Linked DNA regions of Homo sapiens: regions 1, 2 and 3 are each linked to region 4. The links are contacts of gene promoters, found by promoter capture Hi-C in human tissues and cell types (Jung and others, 2019). All regions are on one chromosome and are shown on one strand. Each heading gives the region's core, a stretch centred on a gene start or on the middle of the fragment in contact. The rest is flanking DNA. Distances are from core to core; before and after follow the strand shown. Region 1 has its middle 120 kb from the start of DOCK1. Region 2 has its middle 71 kb from the start of DOCK1. Region 3 has its middle 97 kb from the start of DOCK1. Region 4 holds the start of DOCK1 (dedicator of cytokinesis 1).

Evidence for each region. The method cuts DNA at HindIII sites, captures the fragments that hold promoters and counts their contacts. A contact is called where the count stands out against the background at its distance.
Region 1: a fragment that was not itself captured here is called in contact with the fragment with the promoter of DOCK1 in region 4 in 2 of the 25 tissues and cell types used here (bladder and mesendoderm cells).
Region 2: a contact is called between a fragment that was not itself captured here and the fragment with the promoter of DOCK1 in region 4, in 4 of the 25 tissues and cell types used here (dorsolateral prefrontal cortex, heart left ventricle, mesendoderm cells and 1 more).
Region 3: a contact is called between a fragment that was not itself captured here and the fragment with the promoter of DOCK1 in region 4, in 2 of the 25 tissues and cell types used here (spleen and thymus).

Annotation. Positions count from the first base shown.
Region 1 is chr10:126,787,915-126,791,230 of GRCh38, reverse strand. No RefSeq gene overlaps it. Among named protein-coding and RNA genes, the nearest start is that of DOCK1, 120 kb to the left of the region's middle. The HindIII fragment of the contact is 5,265 bases long and covers 1-3,316 here.
Region 2 is chr10:126,833,214-126,836,278 of GRCh38, reverse strand. No RefSeq gene overlaps it. Among named protein-coding and RNA genes, the nearest start is that of DOCK1, 71 kb to the left of the region's middle. The HindIII fragment of the contact is 4,715 bases long and covers 1-3,065 here.
Region 3 is chr10:126,806,733-126,809,897 of GRCh38, reverse strand. No RefSeq gene overlaps it. Among named protein-coding and RNA genes, the nearest start is that of DOCK1, 97 kb to the left of the region's middle. The HindIII fragment of the contact is 7,897 bases long and covers 1-3,165 here.
Region 4 is chr10:126,903,792-126,906,722 of GRCh38, reverse strand. It overlaps DOCK1 (dedicator of cytokinesis 1), which reads right to left and starts at 1,295. Exons shown (of 52, transcript NM_001290223.2): 1 at 1,160-1,295. The coding sequence starts at 1,205. It overlaps LOC105378550 (a long non-coding RNA gene), which reads left to right and starts at 1,345. Exons shown (of 2, transcript XR_946449.3): 1 at 1,345-2,163; 2 at 2,281-2,931. It overlaps LOC124900289 (a long non-coding RNA gene), which reads right to left and starts at 992. Exons shown (of 2, transcript XR_007062336.1): 1 at 1-992. RefSeq lists an enhancer at 1-274. The HindIII fragment of the contact is 5,553 bases long and covers 1-2,931 here.

The DNA.
Region 1 (3,316 bases), core at 720-3,219, 120 kb after region 4:
TGACAGTCTGTCTTTTAATTATAATATTTAAACAATTCATCTTTATGATTATTGCTATATTTGGGTTAATATTAATGTCAGTCATGTTTATAACTATTTTCTGTTCATTGCCAGGGGTTTCTTTTCTGCCTTTTCTGATTTTACTTGAAGATTTTATATGGTTCTATTTTATCTAATCTCTCAGGATATCATTACACACCTTTAAAAAAAATTAGTGGTTGCTCTCAGAGTTTACAATATCATCCAGGTCTACCTTCAGATAAAATTATTCTGCTTTATGTGTGGTAAGGGTATCTTATAAAAGTGAATTCCTAATTTCTCCCTACCATACTGAGACATTGCTATCATTCATTTCACTTACTCATTTGCTATAATCACCCAATACATTGTTAATATTACTTCAAACAAATAGTTATTACTTATATCAATTAGAAATAAGAAAAAGATTTTATTTTACTTGCATTTATTTCTTCTCCAGTGCTTTTCCTTTTTTCGTGTGTAGATTCAAGTTTTTGACCTATATCGTTTTTCTTCTGCCTGAAAAAAAATCTGTTAATATTTCTTGCAGGACAGGTCTGCTGGTGATGAATTTTCTCAGTTTACATTTATAGGAAAAATCTTTATTTTTTTCACTTTTGAAGGATAATTTCTCAAATATTGAAGTCTAGATTGGCGGATTTATTTTACCCTTTCAACAGAAAATTTTTCATTCTATTCTCTCTTGCTTTTATGGTCTCTGATGTATATCTGCTGTAATTCTTATCCTTGTTCCTCTGTAGGTAAAGTGTGTGTGTTTGGTTTTTTTTTCCTCCCTCAGGCTTATTTCTAGGTTTTCTCTTTGTCTTTGGTTTTCTGTAGTTTGAATATGATATGCCTAGGTATAGTTTTTTGTTATTTATTCTGCTTGATGATCTCTGAGATTTTGAATCTGCGATTGGGTGTCTGTCATTAATTTTGGAAAGTTCTTGGCCATTATTACTTCACATATTTCTTCCACTCCATTTTCTCTTTCTTCCATTTATTCTAATTGTGTCTTTGTTACACCTTTTGAGATTATCCCATTGTTCTCAGATGTTCTGTTTTGTTTTGTTTTGTTCATTCTCTGCATTTCAGTTTGGAAATCTCTATTGACCTATTTTCAAGCTCACTGATTTCTTTCCTTGACCATGTGCAGTCTTCTGAGGGGCCCATCAGAAATATTCTTCTGCCAGGTGTGGTGGCTCACGCCTATAATCCCAGCACTTTGGGAGGCCGAGGTGGGTGGATTACCAGGAGTTCGAGACCAGCCTTGCCAACACAGTGAAACACATTTCTACTAAAAATACAAAAATTAGCTGGGTGTGGTGGCATGTGCCTGTAAGTCCAGCTACTCCAGAGGCTGAGGCATGAGAATCGCTTGAACCCAGGATATGGAAACTGCAGTGAGCTGAGATATCACCACTGCACTTCAACCTGGCTGACAGAGCAAGACTGTGTCTCAAAAAAAGAAAATGAGACTGTCTCAAAAAAAAAAAAAACTTCATTTTTCTAACAGCAATTAAAAAATTTCTTGCATTTCCTTTTGATTTTTCTTAGAATGTCTATCCCTCTGCTTACATTTACCATCAGTTCTTGCATGTTGTCTACTTTTTCCATTAGAGTCCTTCAGAAAATATTTGTAGTTATTTTACATTGCTTATCTGATAATTCAAACATTAGGGGTATACCTGAGTCGGGTTCTGATTCTTTCTTTTTCTTTTTAGACTGTGGGTTTTTTTTTTTCCTTTTGCCTTGCCATATAATTCCCCCTCCCGCCCGGTTTTAACCATTTTTAACTGTATAATTCAATGGCATCAGGTGCATTCACAGTGTTGTACAGCCATCACCGGGCATGAGCAGGGTGGGCTCTCATGGCATCTCCACGTCTAGCATAGCCTGACATATAGTGGTTGTCAACCAATTCTTTTTTTTTTTTTTTTTTTGAGACAGAATTTCCTCTGTCACCCAGGCTAAAGTGCAGAGGTGTGATCTCGGCTCACTACAACCTGCACCTCCTGGGTTCAAGCAATTCTTGTGCCTCAGCCTTCCAAGTAGCTGGGATTACAGATGGCCGCCACCACACCCGGGTAATTTTTGTGTTTTTAGTAGAGATAGGGTTTCACCACGTTGGCCACACTGGTCTCGAACTCCTGACCTCAGGTGATTTGCCTGCCTTGGCCTCCGAAAGTGCTAGGATTATAGGTGTGAGCCACCTCTCCTGGCCCCAACCAAATCTTGAATGAATACATAGAAATAAAGAATATTTGTTTTACTTTTTTTTTTCCCAGGAAGCTGATTATATTAGGGCTTAATGTTTTATGGAAGAGAAGCCATGAACCTGTAACTTAGCCCAGTGCTTCAGTGCTTCTTAAACTTTAGTGAGCATTGGAGTCACTTGGAGAGTTGTTAAGATGGACTCTGCAGGTCTGGCTTGGAACCTGAGATTTCCCATTTCTAACATCCTCTCGGGTGATCTTGAAGCTGTGGGTCCCTGGGTCACACCTGGAGTAGCTCTGACTTAGCTCATTCTCTGACTTTATATTAGATGCCTTAAAAAGCTGGGTGGTTCCCTGGGAAAAGTAGCAGCTCCATGTCCTACTCACTAGGTTTTTCTGGTGCACGGTAGCAGCCATGGCAGCAGGCTAAGGCATTTATTTCCCTTTAGACTATAGCAGTTTGAGTCCCTGGGAAGTTGCTAAAAGCACCAATGTAAGTGGCTTTCATTCCCAAAATCAAGGCCCATGAGTCAGTGTACAACCAGCTCCACCCGGAGTCAGAAGTCTTCCTAAGATTAGGATGGTGTAAAGCCAGGAAAGGCTGCAACTCTTTCTATGCCCCAAAACCAACTGCGAAGAGAAGATTACTCCATGAACTTTGGAGGCCATATTGCTACAAGAAGAAGCTTGGAGTCAATGAATCCTATTTCTGTACTTCCTCTTTCAAAAATCACCCTCAACAGAAATCTTCCAAAAGAAAGCTATGTATTCTAAATGATTAGGCTCAGTGATTTGACACTGGCCTCTTTTCCTGGGACAGAAGGGGACCTGGAGATGGCATCTCATGGTGAAGAGCCTTCTGGGTGAGAAGCTTCTATTTTCCATGTTATTATTTAAATATAATGCAGCTGTTATCACTAGGCAGATGACACCTTTAGATCTTACAGAGCAGGATGTTAGCCAGCAGTTGTAATGCTAATTATCTGTGCCCCTGCCCACACAAATTGGTGCTTTGAAGACCTAAATATTCAGAATGTTGCTGGCAGCTCAGTTAATGTTAACTTTTTTGGTAAGAAACATGG
Region 2 (3,065 bases), core at 437-2,936, 71 kb after region 4:
GTCTGCCCTGGACCTGTATGGTCAACCAGGTGAGTGAGACTCTCTCCATGGGCACCCCAGAGCCTGCTGGTGGCCCAGAATGGTACCTCGTCCCTTGGGAGGCTGCCTCCAGTCTGGTTCTTCCAGTCTGAAGTCACTGTGCTTAGACAAGGGAACAGCTTTTTCTCTGGGGGAAGGACACTGCATCCATGTGGTGTTGCCTCATCACGTGAGAGAAAACGGCAAGGAGGAAGGACTCACTGCCCACAATCCAGGAGAAAGCCACTGTTGGGAGTGAGTGCCTGGAGAAGAGGCTGTTCCTGAGTCCTGAATGAATTCCACAGCTCAGAGGTGTGTGTGTGTGTGTGTGTGTGTGTGTGTGAGAGAGATATGTCAATATTTTAAGACCAAGAATATCCAGAATTGTTTTTTGGCTCATAGAAAGCATCCAGTAAGTGTTTGTTATTATTTTTATTATATGCTTCTTATCAATAGTAATATTGTTAGGCCCATAATAGATGCCCAACACATATTTGCTAAACATTTGAGCATTAGGCAAAGGAGACTTGTGCTCATTGATATAAATTTGTGACTTAATAATTTACTTTGGAGCAAGAAAGCATTTTACTTAGGGATTTTTCTCTTGGTGAAGTGCTATATTCTAGTAAAGATTTTAATATTCTTCCAGCTTGTCAAATAAGATAGTTATAGGGAATCATGGATGCTTGATTCTCTGCCCTATGATAGGTGAGGCTGACACCTGAAGGAAAATGAGCTCTCGCTCTCTTTTTTTCTCTCCCCCACCCTCTTCTACCATGTGGAAGATTTATAGATAATGAAGCCATTCTCTGATACTGAGAAATTCTGAAGCCCAAGAAAGGGCTTTGCAAGAAACAAAAAGTCTGACTGCCAAGGAACTCCTTTACTGAATGGCAATCCAATATTGTACCCTCAACTTTTACCAGGTATCACTGTGAAAAACATTCCCAGGAAGAAGGTCTTTGTTCCTTCCAAAATGGCCCCAAATACATCATTCATTAGGAAATTCCCAGTCTCCTGTGTGTATCCACAGGACAAATTTCTCTGTGTATAGAGGGTTAAAGTTTCTTTTTCAAAGAACTGTTAAGCTTCCTCTTAACACTTGAAGTGTTAAGTTTACTAAACACTAAAAACTATGTAAACTCTGGCTTTCCCTATTTACTAGGTATTCAGGAAGCTCAGAACTATGGTGAACTGCAATAGTGCCTCACCAATAATTAGCATTAGCATCATATTTCTGACATATTAGCAAGTGATTTTGTGTACGGCTTCTAATTGAATTCTTACAGCATTGCTGCAAGAACAGTGCTATTATTATCCTCATTTTACAGATGGGAAATAAAGGCTTAGATGAATTTATTCACTTGTGTAATATTCCACAGCTGGTGAGAGTTAACATTGACCAAGAATCTGGGAATCATGCTCTCTTCCTTTCTCTGCTTGGCTTCTCTATGCTGGTAGCTCCAGAGATGCTGGGGCAGAGTGGGGTGTCCTTAATAACTAAGAACAGAATATTAAAAATTAAATCCAATCTATCCTGCGCTGTCATAGGAACTCTGCTTGGAAACATTGTTTAAAATATATACTGCTAAAGAACCATGGGGTGGAGAAGAAAGAAAAAAGTAAAAAAAAAAATAAAATATACACTGAAATCTTTCAATTCATCACATATTTACATAAATGCAGCTTCCTGCTAAAGGTTTATAGGTTCCATGTGAAGACTATTTCTGAAAGTTAGCAACTCCGAATAATTCTTACCCCATTAAGAATGTATATTCTGAGATCCAGATTGAATAAATGAGGGAGATCTAAGTGTTTTACTCCATATGCTGGGGGAGATGTGCATTTCATTCAATTTGATAGGTAGTAATAGAGGCCCTGCTACATATGGAGTTAAGCAGGAAACACACAATGACTGATCTATGACCTATGCATGTATCTTACACAATTTAATACAGGTAGCAAGAGAAATACCCAACTCACTACTAGGTGAGGCAGATAATGAGAAGTGCTCTCAGTGGGGAAGGGGAAGGAAGTGAGGGCCACATAGGTGGTCTCTCATTAGAACTCATGGGAACACTTCCAGGTGGGCCTGCTTTATATACAGGATATCTAAGGAACTTACTCAAGCTCACATAGTGAACACAGATCACGAATAGGATTCAAACTCTTTTGGGAAGGTCCTGGCACTTTCCAGGACACCATGAGCCTCCAAATACTTCTGTGGTTTTGTCAAGAAGCTACCAGGTGTTAACACATGTAGAAAAGCAGGTGTGGACACACAGAGAATGGGGGGATTGCAAAATTGTCTCTCTGAAGGGAGTCACATGGTCTCATTTTGAAGGATGATCAGCTTTCCACAGACTCAGTGGTGAGGTAGCATTTTTGCAGACAGAACAGCAGAAGCAAGAGGTTGCGACGGGAAAGCCTGGGATGCTGCTAGGAAGTGATACCTAATAATAGGAAATGAGGCAGAACACGCAGTTCTATGCCCTGGGGTGGAGCCATAAGGACACGTGCACTGGAATCAAACCAGCATGAGTCTGCATCCTGGTTCTGACTTTAGTTAACACTGTGACTGGGTGGTAAGAACCATGACAAGAAAGCATTTATTACAGTACTGCCTAGCACATAGTGAGTGCTCAGTAGCTCAGTAAACAGTAGCCACGTGGTACTAGGCACTTGTCAAGTAAAGGGGAGCATTTCAGGGTTCTGGGAGCAGGAAACGACTTGATGTATGCTACTAGGCTTCTAGGTTTCAGAAACCTATGTGTTCTGACCCTTGAGAGAGCTAACTCTTCTTTTTAAAAAAGCGCTCTTTGTCTTGGTTTGTTTAGTGCTGCTATAACAGAATCCCACAGATGAGTAATTTATTATGAATAGAAATTCATTGGCTTATGGTTCTCAAGGCTGGGAAGTACAAGTTCAAGGGGCTAGCATCTGGTGAGTGTCTTCTAGCTGCCTCACAGCATGGCAGAAGGGCAAAGAGAGGGCAAAAGACAAAGAAGGGGCCAGACTCATCCTTTTATAAGGAACCCACTGCTGCA
Region 3 (3,165 bases), core at 553-3,052, 97 kb after region 4:
GTGATCCTCCCTCATCAGCTTTGAAGTAGCTAGGGCTATAGGCACGTGCCACCACACCTGGCTAAGTTTTTAAACATTTTTATTTTTTTGTAGATATGAAAAATGTTGCCCAGGCTGGCCTTGAACTCCCGCCCTCAAGTGATCCTCCCACTTTCGCCTCCCAAAGTGCTGGAATTACAGATGTGAGCCACCACACCTTTGTACAGATTTTTGTGTAACTGTGTGTTTTCTTTTTTTCCTAGGGCAAACACCTGGAAATGGGATTGCTGGGTCATATGGTAAGTCAATGTTTACCATTATAGGAAACTGCCAAACTGTTTTCCAGAGTGGCTATACCATTTTGTGTTCTTATCATCCATGCAGGAAAGATCCAGTTGCTCTGCATCCTTTCCAGTATTTGATGTTGTCAGTATTTTTAAAAATTTTGGTTATTCTGAGAGGTTTATAGCAGTATTTTATCATGATTTAATTTGTATTTCTCTAAGTTACCATCCTTATTTAGTATGTGGTGAAGTACCTATTCAAGTCCTTTTCCCGTTTTTGAAAAAATTGAGGGCCAAGTGTGATGGCTCATGCCTTTAGTTCCAGTACTTTGGAAAGCTGAGGTGGAAGGATCATTTGAGGCCAGGAGTTCAAGACAAGACTGGGCAACATAGTGACACCCTGTCTCTAAAACTATTTTTTTTTAATTGAGTTGTTTGATTTCTTCTTTTTTTCTGATTATTTTTTTCTTCCTACCCAGACAAGAGTTGTTTGATTTCTTATTGTTGAGGTTTGAGAGTTTTGTATATATTCCAGATGCAAATCCTTTGTTGAATATGTGATTTGTAAATGTTTTCTTCCAGTTTATAGCTTGTCTCTATTTTTTTGGCAATACCTTTGGATGACCACAAGTCTTTAATTTTAATAAAGTCCAATTTATCGATGTTTTTTAGTGAATCATGATTTTGGTGTCATTTCAAGAAAGTCTTTACCTAACCTCAGGTCTTGATGATTTTCCTCCTAGGTTTTAAATCTAATGGTTTTATAGTTTTGTATTTTTACATTTAAACCTCTGATTAATTTTGGGTTAACATTTATATAGGTCAAGATTTATTTATTTTGGCATACAGATGGCAGCTGTTCTAACATCATTTGTAGAATCATCTTTATTTTAAAAAATATAACTCATACTCTTGCTTTCTGAATAGAATACAATAGCTCAGCAAAAATACATGAAGTATATAGTTAACAAGTAAGTCTCCCTTTTACTACAGTGCACTAGATTCTTGGTTACCTACCTCCATAGATAACCACTGTTAGCAATTTCTAATGTATTCTTCCATTGAAATTCTATGCATATATAAGCATAGGCATATATATTTCCTTTTTAAATGCATGCACATACAGACACACACACACACACACACACACACACACACACACACAGATAATGGCTTATTGTACCCACAATTTATAGCCTGTCTATTCGCACTTAGTAATATATTGTTTTGGTGAACATTCTATATCAGTTCATGAACTGCCTCATTCTTTTAAATAGCTTGGTAATGTCCCATTGTATGACTGCCATAATTTACTCAACCAGTTGAGGCTGATGCATCCTTAGCCTGTTTGAATTCATTTCCTATTCAGTTGTATTCTTCTAATAATGATCTTATTCACAGGAAGTTCAGGTTCCTGTCAAACTCCAAAGCAATTCGTGACATCCCTCCTGTTTAGCAAGAGTGGCAGAGTACAGCAGGGCTGCTTTTTCTTCAAGGAAGAAGAAAGAGATTTTCTACAAGTGCAGAATTATCTTCAAATAAAATTCAGACCGACATACATCAAGAATGTCTCTTGTAATGAAATTTTCCTACCTGAGAAGAAGGCAGTGACCCTTATAGTATAGCTTAACAATGGGATTAAATGGTCTTATTTCTTTTCAAGAAATGTCCTGTTAAAGAAGTTATTTCTGACAAGCACTTCTCTTTCTGTCTTTCAACAGCAAGTGCTGCTCACATGCCAAGCAGAATTGTAAACTTGGACTTCAAGACCTTCCCAAAGTCACATATTTAGCTGTTATATCAGAGCCTGATGTAAGGAAGAAGTAGAGGATGTGGCCATCTCTTAGGTCTCACTGACCCCATGGCTGTTGGCAAGGCTGTTGGTTAGACATTTGCCAAAATTTGGGAAATATAAAAATGAGGAAGAAACATGACAAATTTGGGCATCTTGTCATTTTACCAGGGCCCACAAGAGCCTGAGACTAATATTTATAATGTGAGAAAAGATGCTGATGTCAAAGGCAGAAGGTGAAATCCTTCTTCGTCATCTGTGAAATGTGGTTACAGGGCAGGAAAGATGATCAGTTCTTCGTAAGTATTATCACCCCATGATGTAACTCTGATGAAACTCTTGTTTCCCTGAATTCTAAGTACTTGGCTCAGAGTGTTTTAAATCTTCAGAGCCAAGAGCTTCATAAAGGTGAATGAATATTGCTTTGTGTTTGGGCAGTGCCATAATTTTAAGTTAAGATCATACAATTCACATGACAGAAGCTTCTGGAAAGAAAATTCCTTGCTTTGATTAAGCTGGCTGGGTCATTAGGACTCCGTTATGCTCATAGCAGTTGGCCATGGTAGAATGAAAAACCATTGTGTTTATGACCTGAGAACTCTTTCAGCTAAATGGAAATGATGATATTAGTGTAGCGACACAATTATGCTATTTCATTCTGGGAGCAAATATGGAATTGGTCCCTAATGTGTTTTAATTGCTCATGCAACTTTATGGAATTTTAAAGTCTGTAGTAGTTATACACATTTCTTCCTGCGCAGATGGGCCTTTCTACCCCTTGCCTGGTTATTTGACTACTGTCTGAGGTACAGTTTCATTAGTCTATTCTGAATTCTTTGTCCTTCTGATAATTTGAAATTTTCTTTTCTGAAGGTTAGTGACAGATTCCAGATGCCAAGGGAATGAATAGCAGGTACCATGTATTATACACGTACTATATGCCAGGCTTTATTCTAGACACAACAAGAAATTAATAATTATATTTGCTAGCATCTATTGAACACTTGCATTGTGCTAAATACTGTTCTAAGTGCTTTACATAATAACATCATCCACTTAATCCTCATGAAAGCCCTATGAGGTAGGGACTGTTATTATCCCCATTTACAG
Region 4 (2,931 bases), core at 46-2,545:
GAGAGCCAGGATTCGAACCACACCAGCAGAGGGTCGGGCAGGTCCAGCACGGGCCAGGCACAGAATGGGCGCGGGGCTGCTGCTGAGACGGTGCCCTTGGAGGACACAGCCTGGGCTGTGGGAGGCGAGACCACCAAAGGTCTTCCCAGTCGGGTCGAGTGGCCTGGATGAGGCAGGCGGTCAAGGATGTCTGTGGATGGTGGGACGGGGAATAGCAAGCCCGAAAACCAACTGGGAAGATCCCGGACCCGGGAGAGCAGGAGAGTAGCCACGGCCCAGTCCCGACACCAGGCGCGCAGATCACGAAGAGGTGGGCGTCCGCAGGCCTCGGCGACCGGCTGCGGGTCCCCGGGGCGCAAGGATGCGGGTCCCACGCGGACGGGCCCGTCTATTCAGCCGCAAGGGAAAGCCTCCCTCTCAGGAATGCGCACTCGGGTCCGAAATGTAAACTTGCAACCCGACTCCTTCCATCCCCCCTCGGAAGCGACAAAGAGCCGCGGAGCAAAAACAGGCCCCCGCTCTCCCGGAAGGGTCTCCAGGCCTGGGGCCACTGGGGCGCTCGGCCGCTCGCCTTCTCTCCAAGGTCCCACACGGTCCCCAGCGAGACCGCCGAGGGGCAAGGGGCGCTGGCCACCCAGGTCGCGCCCCCTCCTCCCCGCCGGGAAAGGGCGGAATTATCCGCTGGGACCGCGCCGACCTGAGCCCGCCCACCCAGAGCCCGGACGCGGGACGCAAGTTCATCCAAGAAGCAGAAGCCGCCGCGAGACAGTGACCCCTGGGCTTCCCTGACGGGCCCAGCCGCGCAGATAGCAGCGGCCGGGGCCGGGGAGTTGGGGGTAGCCCGGGGGGCTCCACGGCAGAGGTCCAGAGGAGCGGGCGTCGGAGGGGACACCCTAGGGAGGGACGCGCCCGCCCCCATTCCCACCCCACCCCCTCGTGTTCCCGACCCGCATCCCCGGGGCTGGAGCTGACGCCGCCGGGGGCGCGGGGCGGCCGGGGTCGCCGGGCATTGCGAGCGGGGCGGCGGCGCGGGCGCGGGCGGAAGCGCCTCTCCCCGGCCCGGCGGCCGCTCGGGGCGGCGGCAACAGGCGCCCGGCACACCCGCCCCGCCGGAGCCTGGGCTTGGGGCGAGAGGCGCGGCGGCGGCGGCGCTGCTCACCCACGCCGTACTTCTCCTCGCGCTTGGTGGGCACCCAGCGCGTCATGGCGCCGCCGGAGCCGCCGCGGGTCGGGCAGGAAACTCCGCGTCTAGGCCGCCATTTTCCATTCCTTTCGAGCCGCGACAGGATGGGGAGGAAAAAGTTTGCGGCGGAGGCGGCGTCATGTGGGACGGGGCGGGCGGAGCGTCGCGGGCCGGATGGGAAAGGCCGGGAGCGCCGGCGGGAGGCGGGACGGCCGCGGGCTCTGCGCCCGCCCTCGGCGCGGACCCTGGGCCCCGACCCCGCGGTCGCCGGGGCTCCCCTTCCTCTGTCCCAGTGCGCCCAGCCCCGCGCTCCGCACCCGGGCACCCCCGCGGGGTTCTCCTGAGTTCCTGGAGCTCCCGGGGCTGGCGCTCACGCCGTGAGAGGGGTGCGCCCTTAGGGGGGCGGGACGGACGGGGGGTTTCTACGGGAGGTAGGAAACGGGCGGCTTGCAAGGCGCGGGCTTAGGCCGGAGCCTGGTGGTGCGAGGTCCCCAGCTCGGATTTCTCCCTGGTGGAGAGTCCCGGAGCAGAACAAACCAGCAGAGGCTCTGGAAAGGGTCCTCCTGAGCACGTGGCTCATTCATTCATTCGACAAACGTTACCTGAGCGCCTGCCCACTCATTGCCCGAGTGTGCTGGGAGCGCCGCACCAACTGCCTGGTAGGTGGGAGAAGGGACACGTCAGGTAACAAACAGCACAGGTAAGTGCCGGCCACTCAAATGGGGTGGAAAGAGGTGGCACAGCGCTGCCGAGGGAGTGCGTTCCAGACAGGTGACCTCTTGCTTGGGTGCTGAATGAGTGGAGTTTTCCAGAGAGACCAAGAGGAAGCAGCCGCAGAAACCTCAGCCCAGCTGGGCTTGCAGAAGCTAATGCTAGAATAGTTGTGGGACTCAGGATCTGCTGAAGTCGGGGGAAGAGAGAAGTAGGGAAAGGAAAGCCCAGGCCACGCGTGGGGCTCAGGAACGGCATCCTCGCCCGAGGTGGGAGTTCTTCTCAGGCCCTGGTGTTTCCCATGACAGTAAAAGGTGGGGGCTTCAGATTTCTCCAAGGGAAAAGTTAAAGCAACACACACCTATTTATTTTTACTGTAATTTCAGAAAAGAGAGGTTAAAACCAAGACATGGACAAAGCCTCCGAATGAAGGCAGCCCTTTAAATGGAATAAATTTGGTTTCATGGCACATTAATGGGGTGTCTTCTCTCCGAAGACACAGAGACAACTACAGTAGGTCTGGGGGCCGTCAGGGATTGGAGGAACGAAGGTAAGAAAAGGAAGAAGGTAAGAAAAAGAGGTCCCTACCTCTGTGAGGTAGGGACAGTGCTGAACAGCAGGGCTGGGAGAGCCCACAGGGAGGTGGCCAGGATGGCCACAGGGCCTGGGGAGGACCAGGTGGGGCACCATCCTGCGGTAGAGAATGCCCGTCACCTGCCCTAGGGGCCACCCAGAATGCAGATTAAATAAGTATTTGGGAATGGCACAGGAGCTTTTCCATTTTCGTGGGTTAGAGGAAAGCTGCTGCGTTCAAGAGGATAACGTGGGACCTGAGCATTCTGGTAAGTCAACCCCACATTCATGGAAAGCCACGGGCTCTGTTTTACTGATAAGGAACTGAAGTCCCACAGAGGAAGTGGCCAGGCTCACTCACACACAGCATGCACTTGAAGCTTTCTGTGGAAATCAGAAACCTCCGGGGCTCAGGCGCTGTAGTGGTGGCCTGGTGACTCTGACCCCTTGAAGGAGAAGCATCT